2 separate regions of the Homo sapiens genome follow, and region 1 is linked to region 2. Evidence: promoter capture Hi-C in 16 types of primary human blood cells and fetal thymus (Javierre and others, 2016). All regions are on one chromosome and are shown on one strand. The core of a region is centred on a gene start or on the middle of the fragment in contact, and the rest is flanking DNA. Distances in the headings are between cores, read along the strand shown.

The links. The method cuts DNA at HindIII sites, captures the fragments that hold promoters and counts their contacts. A CHiCAGO score of 5 or more calls a contact.
Region 1: the fragment with the promoter of IRF9 here is called in contact with a fragment that was not itself captured in region 2 in 1 of 17 cell types (activated CD4 T cells); the score reaches 5.7 in activated CD4 T cells.

Annotation. Positions count from the first base shown.
Region 1 is chr14:24,160,015-24,165,998 of GRCh38, forward strand. It overlaps IRF9 (interferon regulatory factor 9), which reads left to right and starts at 1,251. Exons shown (of 9, transcript NM_006084.5): 1 at 1,251-1,324; 2 at 2,130-2,310; 3 at 2,952-3,135; 4 at 3,364-3,494; 5 at 3,864-3,945; 6 at 4,049-4,120; 7 at 4,600-4,941; 8 at 5,833-5,948. The coding sequence starts at 2,131. It overlaps RNF31 (ring finger protein 31), which reads left to right. Exons shown (of 21, transcript NM_017999.5): 20 at 225-393; 21 at 506-641. The coding sequence ends at 559. RefSeq lists enhancers at 978-1,367, 2,357-2,416. The HindIII fragment of the contact is 4,395 bases long and covers 1-4,296 here.
Region 2 is chr14:24,398,799-24,404,644 of GRCh38, forward strand. NYNRIN (NYN domain and retroviral integrase containing) reads left to right here and starts at 205. Exons shown (of 9, transcript NM_025081.3): 1 at 205-288; 2 at 432-646. The coding sequence starts at 449. RefSeq lists a silencer at 259-348. The HindIII fragment of the contact is 4,166 bases long and covers 1,494-5,659 here.

The sequences.
Region 1 (5,984 bases), core at 1-2,500, 240 kb before region 2:
GGCATGCCCAGGCAGTAAAATGGGTCCTTGGGAGCAGTAGGTCTTGCAGTGGGTGGGAGGGAGGAGGCTTTCTGGGCAAGGGCATGGGTAGATAGTAGCAGGCAGTGTGGGCACAGGTGGGTTGTTAATCTTGTTCGTCCAGGTGTCTCAGAGTCCAGCTATGTTAGACACACTCAGTTAATATTAGCCAACACAACAAATATTCTGCTCCCTTTTCTCCCCAGGGCACACTACAAAGAGTATCTTGTGAGCCTCATCAATGCCCACTCGCTGGACCCAGCCACCTTGTATGAGGTGGAAGAGCTGGAGACGGCCACTGAGCGCTACCTGCACGTACGCCCCCAGCCTTTGGCTGGAGAGGATCCCCCTGCTTACCAGGCCCGCTTGTTACAGGTATAGCCTCCACCCAGCCTCATCTCTTAACCCACCCTACAGAAGTCACCTGGTGCTGACTGTGTCTGAGCTCCAGGCTTCCAATATCATTACCTTCTCTCTCCTTCTGCAGAAGCTGACAGAAGAGGTACCCTTGGGACAGAGTATCCCCCGCAGGCGGAAGTAGCTGAGGGCAAGGGTCCCGATGAGGGTCCCATGGCCTGCTCCCTCAGGAACAGCTCCAGCACCAATAAAGAGGCATCTTACCACCCAGGCTTCTTGGTGGTCCTTCTTCCTGGTGCCACCATCTAGGGGCACCAGGGAAAGAGCGGGGTGAACAGAGCTTTGCTGAAAAGGGCCCCCTGCAACCTAGTGCCTGACCCTCCCTGGACTCAGGACCAGGAAGGAGTTGACACCCTGGATGGTCAAGGGAGGCCCTCCCCATCCAGCAGCCTGGCCTGGGCTTCCTCCCTCCCTGCCTCCTTTTTTCCTTTCATAGAATTTGACTGGTATTTGAAGTCACCCAATATGTATCAGGTGGGCACTGTGGGGGAATGCAGATGCACAGGTGTACACAGCAGTCCAGAGGTCCCAGGCCTGACTCCAGGAAACTGGCCTCCCTGGGGAAGCCACGGTGTCACCCAGAGGTCAGATAGAAGCAAGAGTATCTGAGGGAGGCAGGGGAATGAGCCAGGCTGGAGCTGAGCCAGCAGGGCAGGGCCCCCCTGCTGCGACAGTGGCATCCTGATAGTGAGATGCTCAGATGCTGCTGCCCTCTAGTGGCCGCCAGTTCCCTGCAACTCAGACCACGTGATTTCTGGGAAAAGGCCCTCCCTGGAGGAGAACTGAAACTTAGGGTGGGGACTGTAGAAAGGGGCGGAGAGATCAGCCGCCCAGCCAGGAGTTAAGCTGAGGTCGTCTGAGCCCTGCGACAGCCTGGACAGCAACTCAGGTAAGATCAGCCAAGGATGGGAGTCAGCCTGGGATCTAGGGCTAGAAAGTCCAGCCAGATTGAGGGCAGGGGGTCCTAGGGGTCGCTCTGTTAGACTGAGGGATAGACAGAAGATCTCTTAAGTCAGGAAGTGGGAGATTCAGCCTGAGAGTGAGACTGACAAGGGCCAGCTCCCCAGACCCTTGTAGGCAAAGGTCAGGAGGACCTACTGCTGGATTGTTCAAGGAAGAAGGCTCCTGGCCCCAGCCTCAGTGGACCATTTGTTTCCTTGCCATCTGGCCCTGCCCACTTCTGCTGCAGCTCCAACCCCACCCCTACTTCCTGCCCCACCTACTCCTGGGGCCGGCAGGGGGTGGGGGTCAGGCTAGGTTGTGTAGGCTGTGGGGCGGTGGGTGAAGAGCCTGATGGATCTCAGCAGAACCTACCTCTGCTGATGCTCGGGAATCTAGACAGGGCCTGTCACCAGGAACGATCACCAAAGGAATTCTTTTGTAAACAATACATCTCTGAAAAGTCCTAAAATTAAGACCAGTGCCCAAGGTTTCCTTCCAGGTATCACAGCTTAGAGTGCTAAAAACAATGTTTTGGGGGGTTTTGTTGTTGTTGTTGTTGTTTGTCACTGCTAGTGATGGCAGAAAGGAAACAATTCTGTCCCATAGAGTGTTGAAATGTGTTTGGAGCTAAAAGAAGATGGATGGGATCTCTGGGACCTGTTGCCAGAATCTAGTCTCAATGGCCAGGGTCTCAGGAGATGTTCCCTCCCAAAGTGTCAGTTCTGATGCATCCTGCTCCTATTATCCCCCAGGATGGCATCAGGCAGGGCACGCTGCACCCGAAAACTCCGGAACTGGGTGGTGGAGCAAGTGGAGAGTGGGCAGTTTCCCGGAGTGTGCTGGGATGATACAGCTAAGACCATGTTCCGGATTCCCTGGAAACATGCAGGCAAGCAGGACTTCCGGGAGGACCAGGATGCTGCCTTCTTCAAGGTGAAAGGGCCTGGAAACCACTGTTCCTCTGTGTGTGGGATGGTGTATACACACTGGTACACTCATCCTCGAGCACTTGCGTCTGCCTGGGTTTCAGATAAGGGACAGATTGGAGAGGAAAACTAGCTGCATCATTTGCAGAGTCCAGTACAAAATGAAAATGTGGAGGCCTTGTTCAAAAATTTTAGGGATATTGGCCAGGCACGGTGGCTCACGCCTGTAATCCCAGCACTTCGGGAGGCCAAGGTGGGTGGATCACGAGGTCAAGAGATCAAGACCAGCCTGGCCAACATGGTGAAACCCTGTCTCTACTAAAAATACAAAACTTAGCTGGGCCTAGCGGTGCATGCCTGTAGTCCCAGCTACTCGGGAGACTGAGGCAGGAGAATCGCTTGAACCAGGGAGGTGGAGTTGTAGTGAGTCGAGATCGCACCACTGCACTCCAGCCTGGTGACAGAGTGAGACTCTGTCTCAAAAAAAAAAAAAAAAAATTTCCAAGGATTTCAAGATGGCAACGCAGAGCACAGACCCTGCATAATCCCTTCTGAGCTCAGAGCTGCACGCCTGTAAAGCCAGTCCTATTGGAGGGGCAGGTGGAGCCTGTAACACACTGCCTCTTCTTCCCTTGCTTTCTTTCCTAGGCCTGGGCAATATTTAAGGGAAAGTATAAGGAGGGGGACACAGGAGGTCCAGCTGTCTGGAAGACTCGCCTGCGCTGTGCACTCAACAAGAGTTCTGAATTTAAGGAGGTTCCTGAGAGGGGCCGCATGGATGTTGCTGAGCCCTACAAGGTGTATCAGTTGCTGCCACCAGGAATCGTCTCTGGTGAGTTTCCCCTTGTCCAACCACTGCTAGACTCAGCAGACTGGGGAGGAAGGATAGATGTGCAGGCTTCCCCCAGGCTTATAGCTCTGCCCTGTCCATGCCCTTGGGGGGCTGCAACCCAGGTTTCCCTTCCTAGACCTGCCCATCCTTCACTGCCTCAGACCTCTCCTTCACCCTCTGTCCTTGCTCAAGACCCTGACCTTTCTCTGTCCCTCAACAATTCCACAGGCCAGCCAGGGACTCAGAAAGTACCATCAAAGCGACAGCACAGTTCTGTGTCCTCTGAGAGGAAGGAGGAAGAGGATGCCATGCAGAACTGCACACTCAGTCCCTCTGTGCTCCAGGACTCCCTCAATAATGTAAGAGATGGAGAGGGAACTGGGTGGGCCTAAGGGCAGGACAGTAACCAGAGGGAGAGGTGGGCCAATGAAAGACACTGTGTCTTGGGAGGCCGAGGCTGGCAGATCACGTGAGGTCAGAAGTTCGAAACCAGCCTCGACCAACATGGTGAGAACCCGTCTCTACTAAAAATACAAAAATTAGCTGTGCGTTGTGGCATCTGCCTGTAATCCCAGCTACTCAGGAGGCCGAGGCAGGAGAATCGCTTGAACCGGGGGGCGGAGATAGCAGTGAGCCGAGATCGCGCCACTGCACTCCAGCCTGGGCAACAAGAGTGAAACTCTGTCTCAAAAAAAGAGAAAAAAAATAAAAAGACACTGTGTCCGCAGGAGGAGGAGGGGGCCAGTGGGGGAGCAGTCCATTCAGACATTGGGAGCAGCAGCAGCAGCAGCAGCCCTGAGCCACAGGAAGGTACCACCTGCCCTGCCTCTTGTGTCGTCCCCCATGCCACACCCTCTGGCCCAAGACTCCCCAGTCCCACTCTGAATGACCAGTGCCTTTGCTTCCCTTCCAGTTACAGACACAACTGAGGCCCCCTTTCAAGGGGATCAGAGGTCCCTGGAGTTTCTGCTTCCTCCAGAGCCAGGTACGTGGCATTTCTGACTTTCTCCTGTGCCCTGTGCCCCTGAGGTCTTCCACCTTTGACTATGCATGCATTATCTAGTCAGTCAGGGCTTACAGCAAACTGTACCCACATTACCATAGCCCTAGGCAGTGGTTTCTAGGTGGCGAGAATTCCATATGCCTGGCCAGACTCCAAAAAGCTTGCTTCCCAAAAATACCACCCTATACACTCTCCTGGAAATCTACATTGAGACATTGATTTCATTGGGCCAAACAGAGGCCCAATCTCAAGGGACCTTCTAGTAAACTACAAGCCCCTGGGCATTGAGCCCTGAGGCCTCATGGTGAATCACATACTAGCTACTTGCCTCAGTGATAGGAAAACCTGAGAGGAAGCCCCCTGGCTGGTGTGGGGAGGGGAGGTGGAGTTGTTCCCCTGGGGAGGGGCTGCTGCCAGCCTGCATGCTCCTCCAGCACCAGGTAGGGCTGTTCTATCCCCAGACTACTCACTGCTGCTCACCTTCATCTACAACGGGCGCGTGGTGGGCGAGGCCCAGGTGCAAAGCCTGGATTGCCGCCTTGTGGCTGAGCCCTCAGGCTCTGAGAGCAGCATGGAGCAGGTGCTGTTCCCCAAGCCTGGCCCACTGGAGCCCACGCAGCGCCTGCTGAGCCAGCTTGAGAGGGGCATCCTAGTGGCCAGCAACCCCCGAGGCCTCTTCGTGCAGCGCCTTTGCCCCATCCCCATCTCCTGGAATGCACCCCAGGCTCCACCTGGGCCAGGCCCGCATCTGCTGCCCAGCAACGAGTGCGTGGAGCTCTTCAGAACCGCCTACTTCTGCAGAGGTGAGGCTGTTCTCTCTGGGCACATGAGCTTCCACCCCCTACCTCTTAGTACCCCCTGGGCCCAACTTGTTGGGTCCTGCTACCTCCCTATCTGCCAGCAGATCCTCCATGTAGCCTATGCATGGCACTCCTGCGCTTGTGTGTTGCATATCCTGTGTGGCCATATGCCCAGCCTGGCAGCTACCTGGCAGCTCTCCTCCAGCCAAGACAATGGAAGAGGTGGTTCAGGTAGAGCCCAGCACAAGAGTGTCATATCTTGGAGAACACCATCACACTGAAGCATGCAGTCACTATGTGAAGGTGCACAGAAGAATTGGCACAGAGATTTTGAGCCTCATGGCCTTCTCCTACGTACACACATTTGGGAGAGCTGGCACACATCACACACACTGGCCCTGGCTGCACCGTCTTTACCACACTCCAGGCATGCCTTAGGGTTGCGCTTCTCTCCCATCCAATTCCAGCTCCTACTCAATTCTAAACCTGACCTTAAGAGTGGGACCAGGTGTACAGGGGGTGCAGAGTGTGGGTGTTCCCAGGGCCATGGGTGCCCTAGCACTGGGAGGATGTGAGCAAGTAGCAAAGGTCTGGGCACATCTGAGTTAGCAGCCAGGGCTGCTACCTGGGAGGACTCTAAACTCTCCCAGCAGAGAGCTTGTCGGGCTGTGCTGTGATCTGCTACTTCTAAGCACTTATATGAGGCAGGGGCACCCTTTCCTATTTGCACATGGGTGAGTAGCACTTAGTTCCAAGTACTTCTGACCTTGCAGCTCCTGCTCTGGCAAGACCCCCTCCTACCTCTCTCCATCATGGGTTCCTCACTATTGCCTCCCTGCCTGTGGCCCTCTCTCTTCTTTTTGTTCTTCGAACCCTTGACCCTTTCTCTTTCAGACTTGGTCAGGTACTTTCAGGGCCTGGGCCCCCCACCGAAGTTCCAGGTAACACTGAATTTCTGGGAAGAGAGCCATGGCTCCAGCCATACTCCACAGAATCTTATCACAGTGAAGGTGAGCTCGGAGCAGGGGTAGAGTACCCATCTAATG
Region 2 (5,846 bases), core at 2,327-4,826:
TTGGGTGGAAGGCAGAGGCCTCCGGGACCCTCCCCGCCCCCTCCTCCCCCCCGCCGGCTCCCCCGCCCTCTCCTCCGCGCCCCTTTAAGCTATCCAGCAGACGGAGACAGAGTTGATCCAGGAGGGGCTGGCAGAGTGCTGGAGGGGGAAGGCTGGGGGCGGAGGGAAGGGCGGCAGGAGCCCGACCGGTCCCACCCCTAGCTACAACCCCGGGCAGGAAGAGCTCGTCGCGGTAGCAGCGGTCGAAGGGGACCAAGCTCCAGAGGGCGGGCGCCCGAGCCGTGCGGGGTGGGTCCCGCCGCCTGGAGGAAGGAGGCCGTGCGGGGGGCGCGCCGCGGGGAGGAGGGGGCGTGGCTTAGGCGCCTGGGGCTGGGGGCTGGGGCGCCTGCCGCCCCGAGACCCGGGTGACACTATCGTCTCCTTCGTTCCAGGAGCGGGCGGGGCAGCCATGCTCCTGTCTGGGGGCGATCCTCCGGCGCAGGAATGGTTCATGGTGCAGACAAAATCGAAGCCTCGGGTGCAGCGGCAGCGGCTGCAAGTGCAGCGCATCTTTAGGGTCAAGCTGAACGCCTTCCAGAGCCGCCCGGACACCCCCTACTTCTGGCTACAGCTCGAGGGGCCCCGAGAGAACATGGGCAAAGCCAAGGTAAACAGCTTCTCCCCACCCCCACCCATCTCTTCCAGCCAGATCACTCTCTCCCCTTCCCCTGGGGAGATGGTGGTCCGCAGAGACACCACCCACCCTGCCCCCGCCTGGATTTGGCAGTGTGGCAGGCAGGTAGTGGGCCATCCTCCTGCCTCGCCAGATCAGCCTGCGCTCCTTCCATGCCCGCTTCTTCCCTCTGGTTCCTTCCTTTCCTGCCCCACCCCTTCCCTACGTGTCACCTCTGTCCCTCAAGTGCACTGAGAGCACCTCCTCGGTGTGTGTCCCCCATGAGACTTCCCTGGCCAGGGCCCCAGCATCAGCAGTCCCACTTTTCCATCTGGGGAGCAACTCAAGGCGCTGTATTTCTGTGGCCTCTGCAACACACCTCTTTGTTCTCCACCAAGACTGAAAGGCCCAGGTCCTTCTGTCTCCTTTTAAGTCTCCTTAAATCCTGGGCTGCCCCTTGGAGCCTCTGAGTACTAGGACTGGAGGGGCCTTTAGAGATGCTTCTAGAGTGATACTGGCATTTTACAGATGAGGTACTGGTGGCCAGAGAGGGTAAGGGGCCTGGCTGAGTGCTCAGAGTCAGGTAGGTGAGGTGGTGGGGGTTGGACCAGAACCCAGGGCTCTGGGCTCCCTGCCCCACACTCTTGATGCCACTCAGCTTCTTGCAGGGGTTCAGAGTGGGGTGCAGCCCTCTTCCCAGATTCCCAGCCCTTGGAGATGGGTGGGAGTCTGGGAGGAGGGCTATGGGTTTTCAGATGAAAGGGCTTGCTATGTGGGGCTGGACCTTGGACAGGCCAGATCACAGTGCGCCTCTCTTGCAATCTCCCTGGCTTCTCTCACAAGCTTTTCCTCCCCTTGGGCCTGTCAGATTCCACTGTCCCCCAAGGTTTACCTCTTCCCTTAGATTCCTTTATCTTACTTCTTCTTTGTAGGAATGCCACAGCCTCCCTCTGCCCCAGACCACCTTCCCCTTCACCACGCACACCTACTGCAGATGGGTTTATACCTATATCTTAATTGGTCAAGGCCATGGGTGGGGAGGCCCAGAACTCGGCCAGCCAGCCTGGTAGGCAGGCAGGCTGGGAAGTTCCTCCCTCAACCCCTCTGTGGAGCTGCTAGGTCAGCAGTTTTTCCAATTTTGACAGAGGTGCTAGGAGGGGGAAGGGGTGTCTTCCCAAAGAACATATGTACTGGAGGCCTTGAGAGGAAGACATTTAGAAGCCGGGGTAGGGTAGGCTAACAAGAGGAGTGTTTTGGGTTCTTTGGGTTCTTAATCTTTTTGTTACTTTGAAAGGCAGCAGCTCACCCTCTTAGGGGACTCACACTTTCTTTTTCTTTTTTTTTTTTTTTTGAGATGAAGTTTCACTCTGTTGCCCAGGCTGGAGTGCAATGGCGTGGTCTTGGCTCACTGCAGCCTCCACCTCTGCCTCTTGTGTTCAAGTGATTCTCCTGCCTCAGCCTTCTGAGTAGCTGGGATTACAGGCACGTGCCACCATGCCCAGCTAATTTTTGTATTTTAGTAGAGATGAGGTTTCACCATGTTGGCCAGGTTGGTCTTGAACTCCTGGCCTCAGGTGATCCACCCGCCTTGGCCTCCCAAAGTGCTGGGATTACAGGCATGAACCACTGTGCCGGGCCAGGACTCACACTTTCGGAGGTACCCCCGCCACCCCCTCCTTGCTCAAATCCTGGATTGGCTTCTCCAGGCCTACCTGCTCCGTCTCCCTCTGCTGCTTCAGGGTTCTTCGGACCGCAGATCTCACACCTCAGGCTCCCACTGTAGGCCCAGCTAATGGAATCAGTGGCTCCCTTGATTCCTAGCCCTGTTCCTCCACTCCCCCTTTGTCTTCCCTTTGGGAAAGGCATTGTTGAAAAGTGGGAACCCAGCGTGAGGGGATTCTGGGTAGCTCCCTGCCTTATTTTACACAATGACCATAAAGGAGACTTTGTTGGCAATTTGGAGAAGGAGGACAGGGAAGGTGAGGGGCGGGGGGGGTTAAAGTTTTGTCTCAGGGGTTAGGGGATCTGGGTTTGATATGCTGTCACCAAGTTACAACCAAGATAGGAGGGGTATGGTGAGGAGAGTTTGAGACTGGGGTTTGCTACCTGTTAACTATCTGAACTGGGTGATCAGATCAAATAATTTATCCTCTCTTGAGCCATTTCCCTCATCTATGGAACAGACTATAATAATACCTGGTTCATGAAGAGTTTGTGAGAGTCTGCTGAAATCATGCATGTTACAATACTGTTATAAAATGTGGAGAGCTATAGAGTATAGATGTTAGCTACTATTGTTTTTGACTAGCTGCGTAACTTTGAGCAAGTCCTTTTCCCTCTCTGAGTCTCGATCTCCCTGTTTGTAAAGTGGAAGTCTTGGATTAAATGCTGTCTGAGGTCCAGCGATCTGACACATGAACATTTCCCAAGTGTAAGGATGTCTTGTGGTTCTCATAGGGAGGCAGCGTGGCTGGCCCCAATCTCAGCTGTAGGGACACAGAATCATGCACTTTGTTAGTGGCATACTGAACATAGGCCAACAGGCAGAGAGGACTCTGGGAGACTACAGGTTGCAGGACTGGGGGAGGGCTGATGGTGAGGGTGGCTTGTTGGGGTCTGAGGGGAGGAGGGGTCGAGAAGGATACAGGCTCATCTAGAGAAGGGCCTGAGTGTGTTTCTATGTGGTTGGTTTCTCAGGAAAATCTCTGTAAATCTTGAGTGCTTTAAAATTGTTTTGTTGTGGTGGGATTAAAGAACACTGAAGACATTACTGTGAAACACATACCCAGGCAGCAAAACAAACACTGGGGAGGCCTCTCTGAGGTGAAATCAGTGAGTGGAGAGGCGGGTTTTAGTAATGATCAGAAGAGGCCCGGGACAAGCCCTGCTCCACCCTTCTCCCCTTTGGCAGTGAGGTGAGGATGGGGTGGGCGGCAGAGAAGAGAGGTGACCACTGCGGGAGGTGATGGGGAGCCTAAAGGCAGTGGTGGTGGGCAAGAGTACCTTCTGGAGACTGGGTTCTGGAGCTCTGGGACAGGGTGTGGCCTGCTGACATCTGGCTTGGCTGTCAGATGGAAGTTGAACTATCTTTGCTGCACACTAACTGTGAGCAGTACCCTGAGAGTTGGTTGCGGTCAGTGCCTGGAGTTGGCTCCTATGGACCCACTGTTAAAATTTCGGGAATTGTGCAAGTGAGTGGAGGAGTATTTACAGCCATGGTGGGAGTATTTATGCCACAGAAATTGGCAAATGCGACAAATCAAGGTTACCCCCCACCCCCAGCTGATTGTTAAACATTTACCAGGACACCTGCTTGTGTTGTGGGCACTGAATACTTCTTTTTCTTTAAACTTAAATTTTCTTTTATCAAAGTAATACACATTTGAAAAGTCCAATTTTACCAAAAGGCTTAGAAGAGCACACAGAGGTTCCCTGCCCCGGCCCTCCCAATTCCTCCTTCAGTAACCATCCCCACTGACAGTATTTGCTCTGGCATTTACGCATCTCCACATTTCTAAAAGAATATGTAGACACTATTGTCTTTTAATTAATTGACGTTTGCTGCTATCTTTTTTTGGTCCCATTATCGTATGTGAGGATTGAGCTCCCTTTCACGGCCAGCCCCTCTTCTCAAGATAGTTCTGTTTCAATTACCTGCTAAATCTACGTTTAGCATTGCCTCATTATGCCTTGCACATAGCGTTCACATCGAAGCACTGAAGTGTACTATGATTTTGTTTTCTTTCTTACTTTTTGGGTTTTACTGAGGTCATTGAGGTTAAGCACTCCTTGTTTTTCAATTTGCCTTTCTTTGTACCTATTGTTAATTCTTACCACTTCCAGTAGCCTCTCAGTACAGTTTTCTACAAGGTCAGTCTATCAGTTCAAGGTGTTCTTTTGGTTCTAAATTTTTTCTTGGCGCCGTCTCTCCTGTCTGGTCAGTTGCTTTCCAGGCTGACACAGCTGTCGTTCTTGGCATCCTTTGCCTTTTTTCTTTGCTAGATACTCATGTCCTGGACCTTGAAACTTTTTCTTTCTTGGGTTGATGGAACACATCCCTCTGTAGCCTCAAGTTAAAAAGATGGTGCAGCAGCAAAGTGTATGCAGATGCCTGCTTTCAACATGCCTGTCTCTTGAGTCATACCCTCCAATCTGAACTAGCTGTCCTGTGTAATGACCATTGTCACCCTAAAACAGTGCCTGGCATGTAGTCAAGAATTATTTGTCGAATGGATGAATAAATTCTGAGATTTCTCTTCACCGTCATCCTGGAGATGGTCTTTGCTTCTTTCTTACTTGGTTTGCTGGAAAACTGCTCTCCAGTGGCTTCCCGGGAAAAGTTTTACAGGAGGAAAAATGCTGAGGTTGCATGTCCACGTTGCATAGCCAAAGGATATTTGATTGAGAGCTTGGCTGATATTGAATTATAAAAGGAAAATTATTTTCCTTCAGAAATGTGAGGGTTGTGCTCCATTTGGAGGAGCCTGAAGCTGTTCTGGTCCCTGGTCATTTGTGTGAGATGTTTTTTTCTCTGGAAGTTGTCAGTTTTCCCCAATGTTCTGCAGTCTCCCAGTGAGGCCCCTTTGTGCGGTTCTGTTTTCCTCCATTGTCAGGCACTCTTGTTGTACTTAGGGGGCCTTCTATCTGGACACTCATGTTCCTCAGATCTGGGAAATGTGGGGAAGTATTTAGTCGATGATTTCCTCTCCTGTGCTATCTCTGTCCTCTCTTTCTGGAAGTCCTCTGCTTTTCTTATGTTTTCTCCTCTTTTTCAACTTTAACTTTTTGTTCTGCTTTCTGAAGATTTCCTTAATTTTATCTTTGAAGCCTTTTCTTGGGTCTTTCATTTCTGCCATCAAATTTTTAATGTCTAGAAGTCACTTATATTCTCTCTGTTAAAAAATAGTATCCTACGCTTTTTAAATCCAATTTGAAACGTATGTATTCTATTCTTGTTTAGTGTCTACCATATTCTTTGTTACCTCTCTGAGGATAGAAATGATAGTAAGCTTTTTGAAGTTTTCTTCTCCCCCCTAGTTTCTCTTCTTTCAGGTTGCTTTTTTGTTTTCCTGTATGGTTTGTCCTCTGTGTTTCACATTAGAAGTTTTCCTCACAAGCCTGATAATCCTTGCATGATAAAGAGTGAAGGACAAAAAGCTGATTGGGAGTGGAGGCTGTGGGCAAGACTTGTTGG